4 separate regions of the Homo sapiens genome follow, and all the other regions are linked to region 4. The links are contacts of gene promoters, found by promoter capture Hi-C in blood cells and fetal thymus (Javierre and others, 2016). All regions are on one chromosome and are shown on one strand. The core of a region is centred on a gene start or on the middle of the fragment in contact, and the rest is flanking DNA. Distances in the headings are between cores, read along the strand shown. Region 1 overlaps ZNF350 (zinc finger protein 350). Region 2 holds the start of ZNF615 (zinc finger protein 615). Region 3 holds the start of ZNF160 (zinc finger protein 160). Region 4 holds the start of ZNF583 (zinc finger protein 583).

Region 1 (3,373 bases), core at 650-3,149, 4.4 Mb before region 4:
AGCATTCTGCTGGAGGCTATATGATCAAACAGCAAACTGTTTATCATGAATACAGGATGTGAGCAAACTCAGGACTGCTCCTGCCAACATAAGGTTTGCTGGAGGCAATCACTCCCTGGCACCGAGGTTATCTACTGCGACATCTAGAGAATGCAGTCTTGCAAGCCTACTCTGAACTGAGCAGCCGACCCCTTCTTCCACCCCCCCACCCTCCTATCTCTTTTGCCTAATAAATACGGAGGGCTGTGTAAAGCTCAGGGCCCTTGTCCACTAGAGGTAAGGTGCTCCCTGACCCCTTCTCCCAAATATACTCTTTTGTCTCCTGTCTTTATTCCCACGTTCACCCCCATTTGTGCAGTCCCATGGGTCCATGTGGGTTACGGCCCGCCACCGCGCCTGGCTGATTTTTGTATTTTTAGTAGAGATCGGATTTCAGCATCTTGGTCAGGCTGGCCTTCAACTCCGGATCTCATCACACACCCGCCTCAGCCTCCCCACATGCGGTTATTATAGTTGATATGTCTGAACCAAAATGATATGGGAAGCTTGAGAATAAAAGGTTGGAGACAATATGCCACAGAGAGAGTAACCAAAGATAATCTGTTATAACTATATCTCAGACAAAACTGACCAGAAATCCTAAAGAATTAACAGAGAGAAAGAGAAACAATGCTCACTGAAAAGAGGTGAAATTTGGCTCTTCATTCATAGAAATACACCATATGTATACCCCTAACAACAGTCTTGAAATGTATACAGCAAAAAATAGAACCAAAAACAAGAAATAGAAAATTCAGACTAAAGACTTTAACAGACCTTTCCTAGTAACTGACAGAACAGACCATCAACAAACAAAATAAAATTTATAAATGAGAAAGAAATGAATCTTTTATCTGAGGAATGTGACTCCCTTTAAATTATCAGGTCTAGAGAGGCATTAAAATGTGACAGCAGTCTTTCTGATAGGGGTTCCCCTGAAAAAAAGAAAAAAGAAAAAATTAAAAACTAAAAAAAAAATTTAATGTGACAATAGTCACATCTCATTTCCCCCTCAAGCTAAATAATTATCTCTTAAAGCCACTTGCTATGTAGGCTCTAGACTAACTCACACTGAGTAGCCATAAAATGCCATTCACTGGACATCCTAACTCATAAAACCCCATAGTTAACAATGTACAGCCAATTGTTAATTGATATTATTTCTGTAAACCAATGAGAATTCTTGCCAAACAACTTTATGTCAGCTCACGGTTTGTTCCCTTTTGACTTTAAAACCTGTTTCTAACAAAATCCTAACAGAGCACTTAACCAAGGCAACCTGAAAGTATTTTCCCAGGCAGCTGTCCTCATTTTGGCTCAAGTAAACTCTTTAAAATTGTATTTTGTGCAGTTTCCTCTTTTAGGCTGACATAAACGATATCATTTAGAAGAACTCGAATATATTTTTAAAATTAGATTTACTGAGATAAATTTTAACAGTTTTAAATAAATGCAAAGATGTACTATAAAGATGGGCTGGAAAACAAAGCATTTTAAAAATGTCAAGTCTCCCAAATCTACAGATTCAATGAAATCACAGTCACAATCCCAAACTGATACTGAAAAGTTTAAATAGCTATAAACTTTTTTTTAAAGTTTGAAAAAAAAGTTAGAAGACTTGCCATATCAGTTATGAGGACTTATAAAGCTACTTTAATTAGGACAGCACAATATTAGTACAATAACAGGCAAATAGGACAAAGGAACAGAATAAAATCCTTATAAGCAGAATTAAGCACATATAGAGACTCAATGGCAATGATAGCACTACAGGGAAGTAGATAAAAGCTGTCTTTTCAATAAATGGAACTAAGGGCGCCGTGGCTCACGCCTGTAATCCTAGCACTTTGGGAAGCTGAGGAAGGTGTGGGGGAAAGAGAGATCAGACTGTTACTGTGTCTATATAGAAAGAGGAAGACATAAGAAACTCCATTTTAATCTGTACAAAGAAAAGTTCCTCTGTCTTGAGATACTGTTAATCTGTAACCCTAGCCCCAACCCTGTGCTCAGAAACGTGTGCTGTGTTGGCTCAAGGTTTAATGGATTTAGGGCTGTGCAGGACGTGCTTTGTTAAAATGTGTTTGCAGGCAGTATGCTTGGTAAAAGTCATCACCATTCTCCAGTCTCAAGTACCCAGGGACACAATGCACTGCGGAAGGCCGCAGGGACCTCTGCCCAAGAAAGCCTGGGTATTGTCCAAGGTTTCCTCCCACTGATACAGCCTGAGATATGGTCTCGTGGGAAGGGAAAAACCTGACCATCTCCCAGCCCAACACTCGTAAAGGGTCTGTGCTGAGGAGGATTAGTGAAAGAGGAAGACCTCTTTACAGTTAAAATAAGAGAAAGCCATCTGTCTCCTGCTCCTCCCTGGGAATGGAATGTCCCGGTATAAAACCCAATCATACATTCTATTTACTAAGATAGGAGAAAACCACCTTATAACTAAAGGTGAGACATACTGGCGGCAATACTACTCTTTACTACACTAAGATGTCTGTGTAAAGTCAAACATAAATCTGGCCTACGTACACATCAAGGCACAGGACCTTTCCTTAAACTTATTTATAACACAGAGTCCTTTACTCACATGTTTTCCTACTGACCCTCTCCCCACCATTACCCTATAGTCCTGCCACACCCCCCTCACCAAGATGGTAAAAATAGTAATCAATAAATACTAACAAAACTCAGAGACCAGTGCCGGTGTGGGTCCCCCATATGCTGAACACCAGTCCCCTGGGCCCACTTTTCTTCCTCTGTACTTTCTCTCTGTGTCTGATTTCTTTTCTCAGTCTCTCATTTCCACCTTGCAAAAAATACCCACAGGTGTGGAGGGGCAGGCCCCCTTCAGGCAGGTGGACCACTTGAGCCAGAGTTGGAGACCAGCCTGGCCATCATGGTGAAACCCCATCTCTACTAAAAATACAAAAATTAGCCAGGCAAGGTGGCACCTGCTGGTAATTCCAGCTACTCGGGAGGCCGTGGCACAAGAATCACTTGAGCCCAGAAGGCAGAGGTTGCAGTTGAGCCAAGCACGCCACTACACTCCAGCCTGGGCGACGAGAGCAAGACTCTATCTAAAAAAATTAAAAAAAAAAAAAAAAATCAATAAATGGTACTGGGGATGGGGACAGAAAGTTAAAACCCCCCTCACAACATACACAAAAACCATTTTAGAATCAACTGTCAATTTCAATGGTAGAAACATATCAATAAAGCTTTAAAGAACATTAATATAGGAGAATCTCTCAATGTTATTAGGGTATGGCCAGATATTTTAAAGAGGCCACATAAAGCACCCTATAAAGCAAACTATATCCTGCTAGGGGAACTG
Region 2 (3,122 bases), core at 161-2,660, 4.4 Mb before region 4:
AAAATTTTCACAAAATAATATGTTAGGCAGAGAGAAAAATATTGTAATACTAAGAATTAAGATGACCAAATATAAAATAAATATTTAAAATTAATTTATCTTTTGTTATAGATTATAAGGAAAGGGGAGTCAGAAAGCAATACACTGCAATAAAAGTAATAGTCTAGATTGAAGATTAAAGGCAGGAAAAACAAAATTCATGGATAAATGGATAATCATAAAATGTTCCTAAAAATAATACCTAAACATTTTAAAACATTTCACTTCTATCCAAATGTACGCATAAACTTAATGTGAATGCACTTATAGTACCACCGGCTCAAACAGTAAAAACAACTTCTAAATGTTTATTACATAATATAAAGCGAAAAAGATAATAGTACCATTTACATAATTTATCTGAATTATGAATATTAAGCACATAACATACACGTCTAAAATTGAAATATTCTGAAAATTTGACAAAGGTTATCTTTGAGTAACCGAGCTTACCATGGCAGAGATGTTATCTTACTTGTGTCAGAAAGAACCTGAAAAGAAATATCCAAGAGGATACGCTGGAAACTTGCAGGACAAAGGGTAGAAGCCGCATCTTAAATATAAAACATACTACTTTTAGGTATGCTAGATGACTGATCTCGCCAAAAACTTCCATTTCTGAGGATTCAAGACCAAGGGGTGATGGAAGGTGCCAAAGGGGATTTAAAAACCAGTCGTGGAGAAGGGTCTTGGGCAGAAGGGGAATGCTAATGAGCATCAATTCTGTTCCAGCAGCCAGGGCTGGGGCTAACCCATCACCTGCCATGGTTCCCAGGCCTCCAGAGCTGCAGCCCACATCGGAATCTGTGGCGCTACCACCACCGCCACCGGGATTAATTCCAAAACCTGGATCAGAAACCTCCGTACCTTAACCCCCAAGACAGTTCCTCAATCATTTAGTCCCAAACAAAACCTGAACCATAAACCGATTCGCTGACAAAACAAACCCTCCAGTTCGCAATCACTGAGCCCCGCCAAAGGACAACACCAAAGACACCAGAATGTGACTTGGGCACTCAGTAGCGGATCTCTAGAGATCTTTAACCACAAACTACACGAGGACCCTGTGACTGGTCCCAGAGGTACCCCGATCACACACACACACACCCTATCACGGACCTCTTGTAGTTCCCCTGCGATAGGAATCGGACCCACGCTAAGCTCCTGAAAGAATTCCACTGGCGTCGCCAAACGCTGGCGCCGACAGATACCAGTCCATCACCACTGTCCACGAACACGCCCAGCCACGGACAGAATTTCCTCCCCCGTCACCACAGCGACCACCCAGTGACTGAACTTACTTCCCAGAACTTGGTGGGCTCCGGCCTCATCTCTCGGCCTCCTCAGTGCCTGACGGCGACTATCCAGGGTCGGAGGCGTTCCCAGCGTTTGCGCAGATGCAAGATGGCCGCGCCCTCGTCGCCTTGGCTCCATGGGGGCCGCCATCTTTGAGTATCTGACGTACACAAGGCAAAGGGCGCGTTTTGGCGCTGGTGACCGGGGGTGACCGGGGGTGACCGGGGATGGCCGGGAAGATGAAAGAGCACTGAAACTGTCCCATTTCCTGGCACCTCAACCCTTCATAAATACGGGTCCATATACAGAGGCTCCAGTTTACACAAGACAAAAATGGCGTGGAGGTAAATCCCTTTCAGCAGCTGAATAGAAGGCTAAGATGGCCGCGACGTTTACACTTTGTACAAAGGTTAGGAAACAGTTCCTTGTGAGGGAAAAGGAGAACCGGCCGAGAGGGGACACTTCGGCCAAAGCCAGATTTCTAACAAAGTAGCTTGAAGCGCCTTTTGAACGCAGAAGAGGGCTGTTAGCTACGCTGACGGAACAGGGGTAGCAGTCACAGACTAGGTAATGAAAACGGTTGGAACGTGCCAAAATTATGTTGGGTGAAAGGCATGGGGAAAAGCCAGTAAAAGCCAGAAAGTATAGTTCCCAAGGCGGAGGGGAGAGCCTGGGACCCAGGTGGAGCCAAATATGAGGGCTGGACTCAGGAGAAGTGGCCAGAAATTAAGGGAACAGGACCACTTCAGTGAGAAAAAAAAGGTTGGGAAAGAGGCCGGGCGCGGTGGCTCACGCCTGTAATCCCAGCACTTTGGGAGGCCGAGGTGGGCGGATCACCTGAGAGCGGGAGTTCGAGACCAGCCTGACCAACATGGAGAAACCCTGTCTCTACTAAAAATACAAAATTAGCCAGGCATGGTGGCGCATGCCTGTAATCCCAGCTACTCGGGAGGCTGAGGCAGGAGAATCGCTTGAACCCGGGAGGCGGAGGTTGCTGTGGGCCAAGATGGCGTCATTGCACTCCAGCCTGGGCAACAGGAGCAAAACTCCATCTCAAAAAAAAAACAAAAGAAAGAAAGGTTAAGAAGGAGATCACGTTATACTACGTGTGCCAACCGCGAATAGTATGTGCAAAGTCATGGCAATGCTGAACTGTAAATATAAATCCAACCAAACTTCCTATATTAGAAGAATGAGAGAAAGGAAATGCCTGTGTGAATCTATGTGTGTGATATAGGTATCAGTATATAAATATACAGAGAAATTGTCAAACTATTTTTCAGAGTCAAGTTCGTGTTCCATTTGCTCTTCTCACCCTTGGTATATGAGAGTTTTTCTTTTTTTTTGTTTTTTTTTTGTCTCTTTTTGAGGCAAGGTCCACTCTGTTGCCCAGTCTGGAGTGCCTGGGGAGATCACAGCTCACTGTAACTTGGAACTCCTGGGCTCCTGAATAGCTGGGACTACAGGTGGGCACCACCACACCTGGCTAATTTTTTAATTTTCTGTAGAGACAAGGGTCTCACTATGATGCCCAGCTGGTCTTGAACTGGCCTCAAGCAGTCCTCCCACTTCATCCTCCAAAAGTGCTGGGATTACAGGTGTGAGCCACTTCACCCTTCACCCGGCCTATAAAGAGATCTGAAAAGAAATAAGAAAAAAGATGGGCGCGGTGGCTCATGCCTGTAATCCTAACACTTTGGGAGGCCAAAGCGGGAGGATTGCCTGAGTTCAGGAGTTTGAGATCAGCCTGGCCAACATGGCGAAACCCCATAGCTACTAAAATACAA
Region 3 (3,363 bases), core at 109-2,608, 3.3 Mb before region 4:
CCTAGGATTCTGACGATGTTGTGCCTCTTTTTTCTTCTGCTGTTTCTCCCTTCTTTGTTTTTTCCCCTTATATCTGTTCTACTCCATTCTTCCAATTTGTTTCACCTCTTGTGGCGTTTTCTTTCCAATCTTTTCATCGTCCCAATCTCCATCTATTTCTGCCTCTTTCTTACCCCATCTCCGCGCCTCCTCTGCTCTCCCTGTTAAATCCCCTCTTCCCTGTTACACCCGCTTATCCCCACTCTCTGGCACTCCCAGATCCCAGGCCTCCCTGTGTTGTGGTGCTCCCTCTGCTCGCCTTGTCACCAGCTGTCCCCTCCAGCTGTCCCAGCACCACGCAGCTCTGTCTGCCCTCGGCCAAATCCTTTCTCCTCTCCCCCACTCTCTGTCTGAGGAGGCTCCTTCTTTGCTGTCCCTCTCCTTATCTTGTTGTCCTGCATCTCGGGACATCGAGCTTTTCTCTACATTTCGCCAATTGCTTTTCTGCCCCTGCTACTTTCTTGACTGCTTCTTTCACTCTGTCGCTGCAAATCTCTCACCCATCCTCCACTTTGCCATCTGTTTATGGGTCTCCCTCATTTTTCTTTTCTCTTTCTTGGTTTTTCCATCTCCTCTCAGTGGCTCTTTGTCTCTCTTTCTCCTGATTCCCTTGGGCCACACATTCACTGGAGGGTTTGTAGTAAGATGTCTGCATGTTGGAGGAGTACATTTTCCAGGGGGTGGAGCTGGGCAGGCAAAAACACCGGGTGTCACAGGACGGGCCCCGGGCACCTCCCCAACGAGGGCTCAAGGGAAGCGGTGACTGCGAAGGGGAGGCCTGGGGAGCAGCAGGGCCCGGCACGAGGAGGAGGGAGGTGGGGGGCGACGGCGCCTTAGGACAGGGGTGGGATGTGCAGGATCCCAGGACCAGGCGGAGGCGCGGCCTCCCCGGGACTGGGTCGGCGGCGCTGCGCTCCAGGGGCCGACGAGAGCGAGGCTGGGAGGCGCCCAGGGCAGGCGGTGAGGACTTTAAGCGATGCGGGGCGGGAGGAGGAGTCAGTAAAGGATTTTAAGCAGGAAAATCCTGCTTAAACGTTTAAAAAACCGGGAAAGGCCGTGTTTACTTGGCCCAAGGCAGAAAGACCGGGGGCAGGGACCAGCCTCAGGGCGACTTTAACCCAAAAGGAAGCGTCTCCGGGCCCACACAGCAAGGCCTATTTACCTGAGGTGGAGGGTGCGGTGCGGAGATTTTAAGTCCGTAGCGACCCCCGGGCATCGGGTGTGCGAATGGGGGACGGCGAGGCGCAGGTTGAGTCTACACAGAGGAACACTCATACGCCATGGTGTGATGCTTGCTCCGCACGATCCACTTCCGGGTCTGTGGGCAACTGCGCGAAGGAAAGCGACCGAGCGGCCCGGGGCGGGGTCCGAGATGGGCGGAACCGGAAAAGGGCGGGGCGTTGAGAGAGCCGGGCTGAAGCAGGGGCCGCCAGGCAGGGACCCCAGGGAAGGAACGGGGAGGAGCCACCGGGGAGGGGTGGGGAGTGACCAAGTGGAGGGACCCGGGGGCGGGCCGGGGAGGAGCCGCCGGGGAAGGGCGGGGAGGAACCGCGGGAAGGGACCGCGGGGGAGGAAGGCGAAGGGACCGCGGGGGAGGGAGGCAGAGGGACCGCCAGGAAGGGACCCGGGGGAGAGGCGGGGCTGGACGGGACACGTTAGGGTCTGCGATTTCGTGTGATGCCCACAGCCCAGCGCCCAGAGCCATCTGTAGTGTCTTGTGGAACGGCGTAGATGTTTCAAACGGTTTCAAGTTAAAAGCACAGTTGTGTAGGTTATTTTGGAAACCAAACTGCTTTCCTCTTAGAATGGAGGCGGTTTATGTTGAAAGCATTTTTTGCTAGCGCGTTTACCCAGTAATGTTATTGACGCTGAAGCAGCCCAGGAGTCTGGGAACATGGGTTGACACGGAGCGGTGATGGCATGCTGGAAAAGTTTCTGCGATTAAAATTAAGTAATTTAAAAGCCCTGAAATTAGCAGTAACTTTTAAAAAATAGATATAAATTGCATTGTCCTTTTTTATACTTACTATTCTATTCCGTGCGAGATGACAACCTCAAACGCCTATACTTTTTTTTTTTTTTTTTGAGCCGGAGTCACGCTCTGTCGTCCAGGCTGGGGTGCAGTGGCATGATCTCTGCTCACTGCAACCTCGGCCTCCCGGGTTCAAGCAATGCTCCTGCCTCAGCCTCCCGAGTAGCTAGGATTACAGGCGCCCGCCACCACGTTCTTTAGCGGAGATGAAGTTTCACCATGTTGCCTAGGCTGGTCTCGAATTCCTGACCTCAAGTGATCCACCCGCCTCAGCCTCCCAAAGTGCTGGGATTACAGGCGTGAGCCACCATACCTGGCCCCAGGAACTACTTTCACCTACTGAATATATATTAAGTCCTTTGCCACAAAAAGATAATATACATAATTTATCTCAGAACAATTAAGATATTTACCACTGTAAATGACAAATTCAGACTTAGAGAAGGAAGATTTTATTCAAAAGGACTATTGCAATAGAGAGAATGTTCCAATCACAAGATCTGAAAATGTCCAAGAGACACAAACTAAAAAGCTTTTTTTTCTTTTTTTCATATATGGAGGAGTAAACAAGGCTAGAAAGCACAAGCACAAGTTATGAGGCTGTGGATGAGCACTTGGCATGACTACAGTTATTCAGGGAAAGTTTGTTATGTTATGTTATGTTATGTTAAAAATGTTACATATTTCTTGGAGAGAGTCTTGCTCTGTCACCCAGGCTGGAGTGCAGTGGCGTCATCTCTGCTCACTGCAACTTTTCATCTACCAGGCTCAGGCAATCCTCCCACCTCAATCTCCCCAGTAGCTGGGACTACAAGCACACGTCACCATGCCTAGTTAATTTTTGTACTTTTTGTAGAGACGGGGTTTCGCCATGTTGCTCAGGCTAGACTCGAACTCCTGAGCTCGAGGGATCCCCCACACCTTGGCCTCCCAAAGTGCTGGGATCACAGGCGTGAGCCACCGTGCCCGGTCTATTTATTTTTTGAGAGAGCATCTTGCTCTGTTGCCCAGGCTAGAGTGCAGTGTCAAGACCATAGCTCACTGCAGCCTTCAACTCTGGAATCAAGTGATCCTCCTACCTCAGTCTCCCAAGTGGCTGGGACTACGGGTTTGCACCGCCACACTCCACTAATTTTTTTACTTTTTGCAAAGGCGGATTCTCACTATGTTGCCCAGGCAAGTCTTGAACTTCTAGCCTCAACTGATCCTCCCGCCCTGATCTCCCAAAGTGTTGGGATTACAAATGTGAGCCTGGCTCATCATGGAATTCAAGACCAGTTTGGGCAACATAG
Region 4 (3,392 bases), core at 216-2,715:
AACAGTAAAAACTCATTTTGTATGCTAATGAGTTGACAGCTGGCAACCCCTATAGAGTTTCAGGATGGGGACTGGTTATGGAAAGACCAAGACATGACTAGAAGGTTGGGACATTCAACCCCACCCCCAACCCTAAGGAGGGGACGGGATTTTAATCAACCATGCCTATGTAATGAAGCCTCTGTAAAACTCCCAAAAGACAGGGTTTAGAGAGCTTCCACCCAGCTGAACATGTGGAGGTTACTGGAAGGTGCAACACCCTTTTTTCTGTACTTTGCCCTACGCATCTCTTCATCTATATCATTTGTAATATCCTTTATAATAAACTAGTAAACATAAGTGTTTCCTGAGTTCCGTGAGCCACTCTAGCAAAATATCGAACCGCAAAGAGGGGGTGGTGAAAATCCCAATTTGAAGGTGGTGGAGTCAGATGTTCCAGAGGCTAGACTTTAGTGGGAAGTGGGAAGGGGGAGGCAGGCTTGGGGACTGAGCCCTCAGCGAATGGTGTCTGACCCATCTCCAAGTAGACGGCGTCGGAATTAAACTGGAGGACACCCAGCTGGTGCCCGCTGCAGAACTCACTGAACTCATTGCTTGCTTGAGATGTGTGGGAAACTCCCCTATATTTGGTCAGAAAAGTCTTCTGTTATGATTAGTTGTCGTTGAGATAATAGAAAAAAATGCACCTTGCGTTTTTTCCACTGATTCAGAGGGCATAACTGAAAGAATGAAGAACTGAAAGAATGATCTTAATACTCTGCTTCGCTTTTCTTGATAATACGCATTACTTCCCAATATGCATCAGTGTCCTTTATTATTAATTTTTTCCTATTGAATTCCTCCCGCATTAGAATGCTGCTCCATGAGGTGGGGATTTTGTCTGCTTGTTCACTGCTGTGTGCCCAGGGCCCACGACAGTGCCCGATACAGCAGGCGCTCAATAAGTGGCGAATGAAAGACAGGGCAAGGCGGAGAGAGAAGAAACAGAAAGGGAAAGAGAAAGCCCGGGCCGCCAGAGCGCTTAATCACACGTACATCCTACCGGGCCCCTCTCCAGCTGGCTCAGGCTCCACACTGGTCCTCCAGCTCCCTTTTCTCAGCGATGGACTCACAGCCCCACCCGGAGCGCTGGAGCGCGGACGCGGTCACTGCGCGTGCGCCTCACCGCGCTGGCACCCCGGCCTGGCAGCCTTTGGGGACCTGAACCAGCTGCGCCTGCGCAGGTGGAACGGGTGGAACGGGTGGGGGAGCGGACAGTCGAACGGCCTGAGAGGGCTCAGCTGGTCCGGGTGGGATTCTGAAGGCCAGCGGAGGTGGGCTTACTAGGGAAAGGGGCGCAGCAGTAACTACCCGCAACTGAGCGGCGGGATCTGCGGCCGCCCGGGGCCCTCGGCCAACATCCCAGCATCCTCTGCGCCGCGCCGGCCCCGGACTCCATTTCCCAGCGGCCCCTGCGGCCTGCCCTAGGGCTGCGGCGCCTTTGTGAGCGCGGCCGCCGGCCAGGATCGAGCCCTGGCCCGGGCCCTGGCCCAGCCCCGGCCTCCAAGGACCGCGCCGAAGGAGGTGCCCACTGGAGGGAGGAGGCGGTGAGGAGCGCGGGATGGAGCTGACGCCGGGAGCGGCCATGCCACCATGTGTGGGACCGTGTGTGACAGTGTGTGAGAATGTGTGAGACATTAAGGAACCGTGTGTGACAATGTGTTTGACAGTGTGGAATCGTGTGTGAGACCATGTGTGACTGTGTGAGAATTTGAGACCGTGTGTGACAGTGTGAGAATGTGAGGCCGTGTGTGAATATGTGTGTCAGTGTGAGACCATGTGGGACAAATGTGGGACTATGTGTGACAGTATGAGACTGGGTGTGAGAATGTGTGCGACAGTATGAGACCGTTGCCCCGGTGTATGCGGGAGCCTTTGACAGTATATGGGACCGTGTGGGACTGTGTGACACTGTATGTGCTTAAGACCACGTCACCATGTGTGAGACTGGGAATGTGTGACAGTGTTAAACTGTCATTATGTGTAGACCACGTGTGAACAGTGTGTAAGACCATGTCACTGTGTGTGTGACCTGTGTGTGTGGGATAATGTAAGACTGTGTGACAGTGTGTGTGACTTTGTGAACAGAGCTTGACCGTGTGTGTAGGATTAGATGAGACTGTGACAGTATGTGAGACCATGTCACCGTGTGTGAGGCTATGTGTGGTTGTGTACGGTGTGTGGCTGTTGATATGGGACCACATGAAACTGCGACAGAATTTGTGTGACAGTGTGTGAGACTGTGTCACTGTATGTGAAACTGTATGTGAACAGAGTTTTTGTTGTTGGACTAAGATTGTATGTGACAGTGTTTGAGATTGTGCATGACAGTGTGTGTGATTATGTGAGACTGAGGGAGATGGTGTGACTTAGCACTGTATGTCATCCCGACAGTGAGTGTGACAGTGTGACTGAGAATGGCCTTATATGACCCATTGTGAGAGCAGGGCGGGCTACAATGTGGGGGCATGTCCATAGGTTGCCAGGGGAGGTGCCAGAATGAGAAACTATGTGGTTTGTTGTCTGTGATTTGTGTGGGCAGGAAGCTGTGTGGGTGCTTGGAGATGCTGGTGTGCTCTGGGGTTTGGGAGACTGCTGTTGTGGTGGAGAGACAGAAAGATTGAGATAAAGGGGAAAAGATGGAGAAAGGGAGGGACGAGAGCTGAAAAGGGAGAGACAGACAGGAGCCTCAGCCTTAAGCCTGAAAAGCTGACCACGCTGGCTGCTTGTCCTCTGGCACAGTAGTTTTTCCATCCCTCTCAGTCTCTGGGGGCACGTGAGGAATTTAAAAGGAAAAAGGAATGGGAGACCTACCATGTGCTGGTTATGAAAATAAATGACAGAAAGATGAAAATTAAGCACTGTGCTCAATGCTTTATGTAGATCATTTCAGAATCCTCCCAACAATTGATAGGGAATAGTTACCATTTCACTGATAGAGAAACAGGTTTGCAGTGGTTACCTAACTTGCCAGAGGTTGTATAGGTAGCATGTGGTGGTTTGGCTGTTTGAGACCAGGTGTTCTGATCCTTAAGCCTAGTAGTTCTTACCACTGAGTTATGCCACTTCATAGGTAATGGCTTTATTCTTCAAGGCAGTGAGGTCTGCTGGACAAGAATTCACCATAGGGGGTTTGGATGACTGTTCAAGCATAGCCTGCTCCTCCCTCCCTCTCTCCTTCTTTCTGTCTGAGGAGATTGCCCAGAAAAGTCAAGAGATTAGTTTTCAGTTGTGGGTTGTCATAAGCCAGGACCAGAAGTAGGCCGTCTTGACTCTTTGATCGAGTGTCCACCACACTACATGGACCCTCTGATACTCACTCTGTGTATAGAGATGCTTTCTCTGAGAAATTT

What was found. The method cuts DNA at HindIII sites, captures the fragments that hold promoters and counts their contacts. A CHiCAGO score of 5 or more calls a contact.
Region 1: a fragment that was not itself captured here is called in contact with the fragment with the promoter of ZNF583 in region 4 in 2 of 17 cell types (neutrophils and activated CD4 T cells); the score reaches 8.2 in neutrophils.
Region 2: the fragment with the promoter of ZNF615 here is called in contact with the fragment with the promoter of ZNF583 in region 4 in 1 of 17 cell types (non-activated CD4 T cells); the score reaches 6.8 in non-activated CD4 T cells.
Region 3: the fragment with the promoter of ZNF160 here is called in contact with the fragment with the promoter of ZNF583 in region 4 in 1 of 17 cell types (naive CD8 T cells); the score reaches 5.8 in naive CD8 T cells.

Annotation. Positions count from the first base shown.
Region 1 is chr19:51,981,058-51,984,430 of GRCh38, forward strand. All of the region lies in intron 1 of ZNF350 (zinc finger protein 350), which reads right to left. ZNF350-AS1 (ZNF350 antisense RNA 1) reads left to right here. Exons shown (of 3, transcript NR_103847.1): 3 at 1-310. Among named protein-coding and RNA genes, the nearest start is that of ZNF350, 4.1 kb to the right of the region's middle. The HindIII fragment of the contact is 2,712 bases long and covers 544-3,255 here.
Region 2 is chr19:52,006,801-52,009,922 of GRCh38, forward strand. It overlaps ZNF615 (zinc finger protein 615), which reads right to left and starts at 1,411. Exons shown (of 7, transcript NM_001199324.2): 1 at 1,341-1,411; 2 at 493-530. LOC124904755 (a long non-coding RNA gene) reads left to right here and starts at 1,498. Exons shown (of 2, transcript XR_007067321.1): 1 at 1,498-1,679. RefSeq lists enhancers at 1,172-1,781, 1,842-1,921. The HindIII fragment of the contact is 6,775 bases long and covers 1-3,122 here.
Region 3 is chr19:53,102,064-53,105,426 of GRCh38, forward strand. ZNF160 (zinc finger protein 160) reads right to left here and starts at 1,359. Exons shown (of 6, transcript NM_001322131.2): 1 at 1,202-1,359. RefSeq lists a silencer at 1,402-1,811. The HindIII fragment of the contact is 3,069 bases long and covers 1-2,601 here.
Region 4 is chr19:56,402,867-56,406,258 of GRCh38, forward strand. ZNF583 (zinc finger protein 583) reads left to right here and starts at 1,466. Exons shown (of 5, transcript NM_152478.3): 1 at 1,466-1,586. RefSeq lists an enhancer at 890-1,029 and a silencer at 1,490-1,699. The HindIII fragment of the contact is 8,045 bases long and covers 1-3,392 here.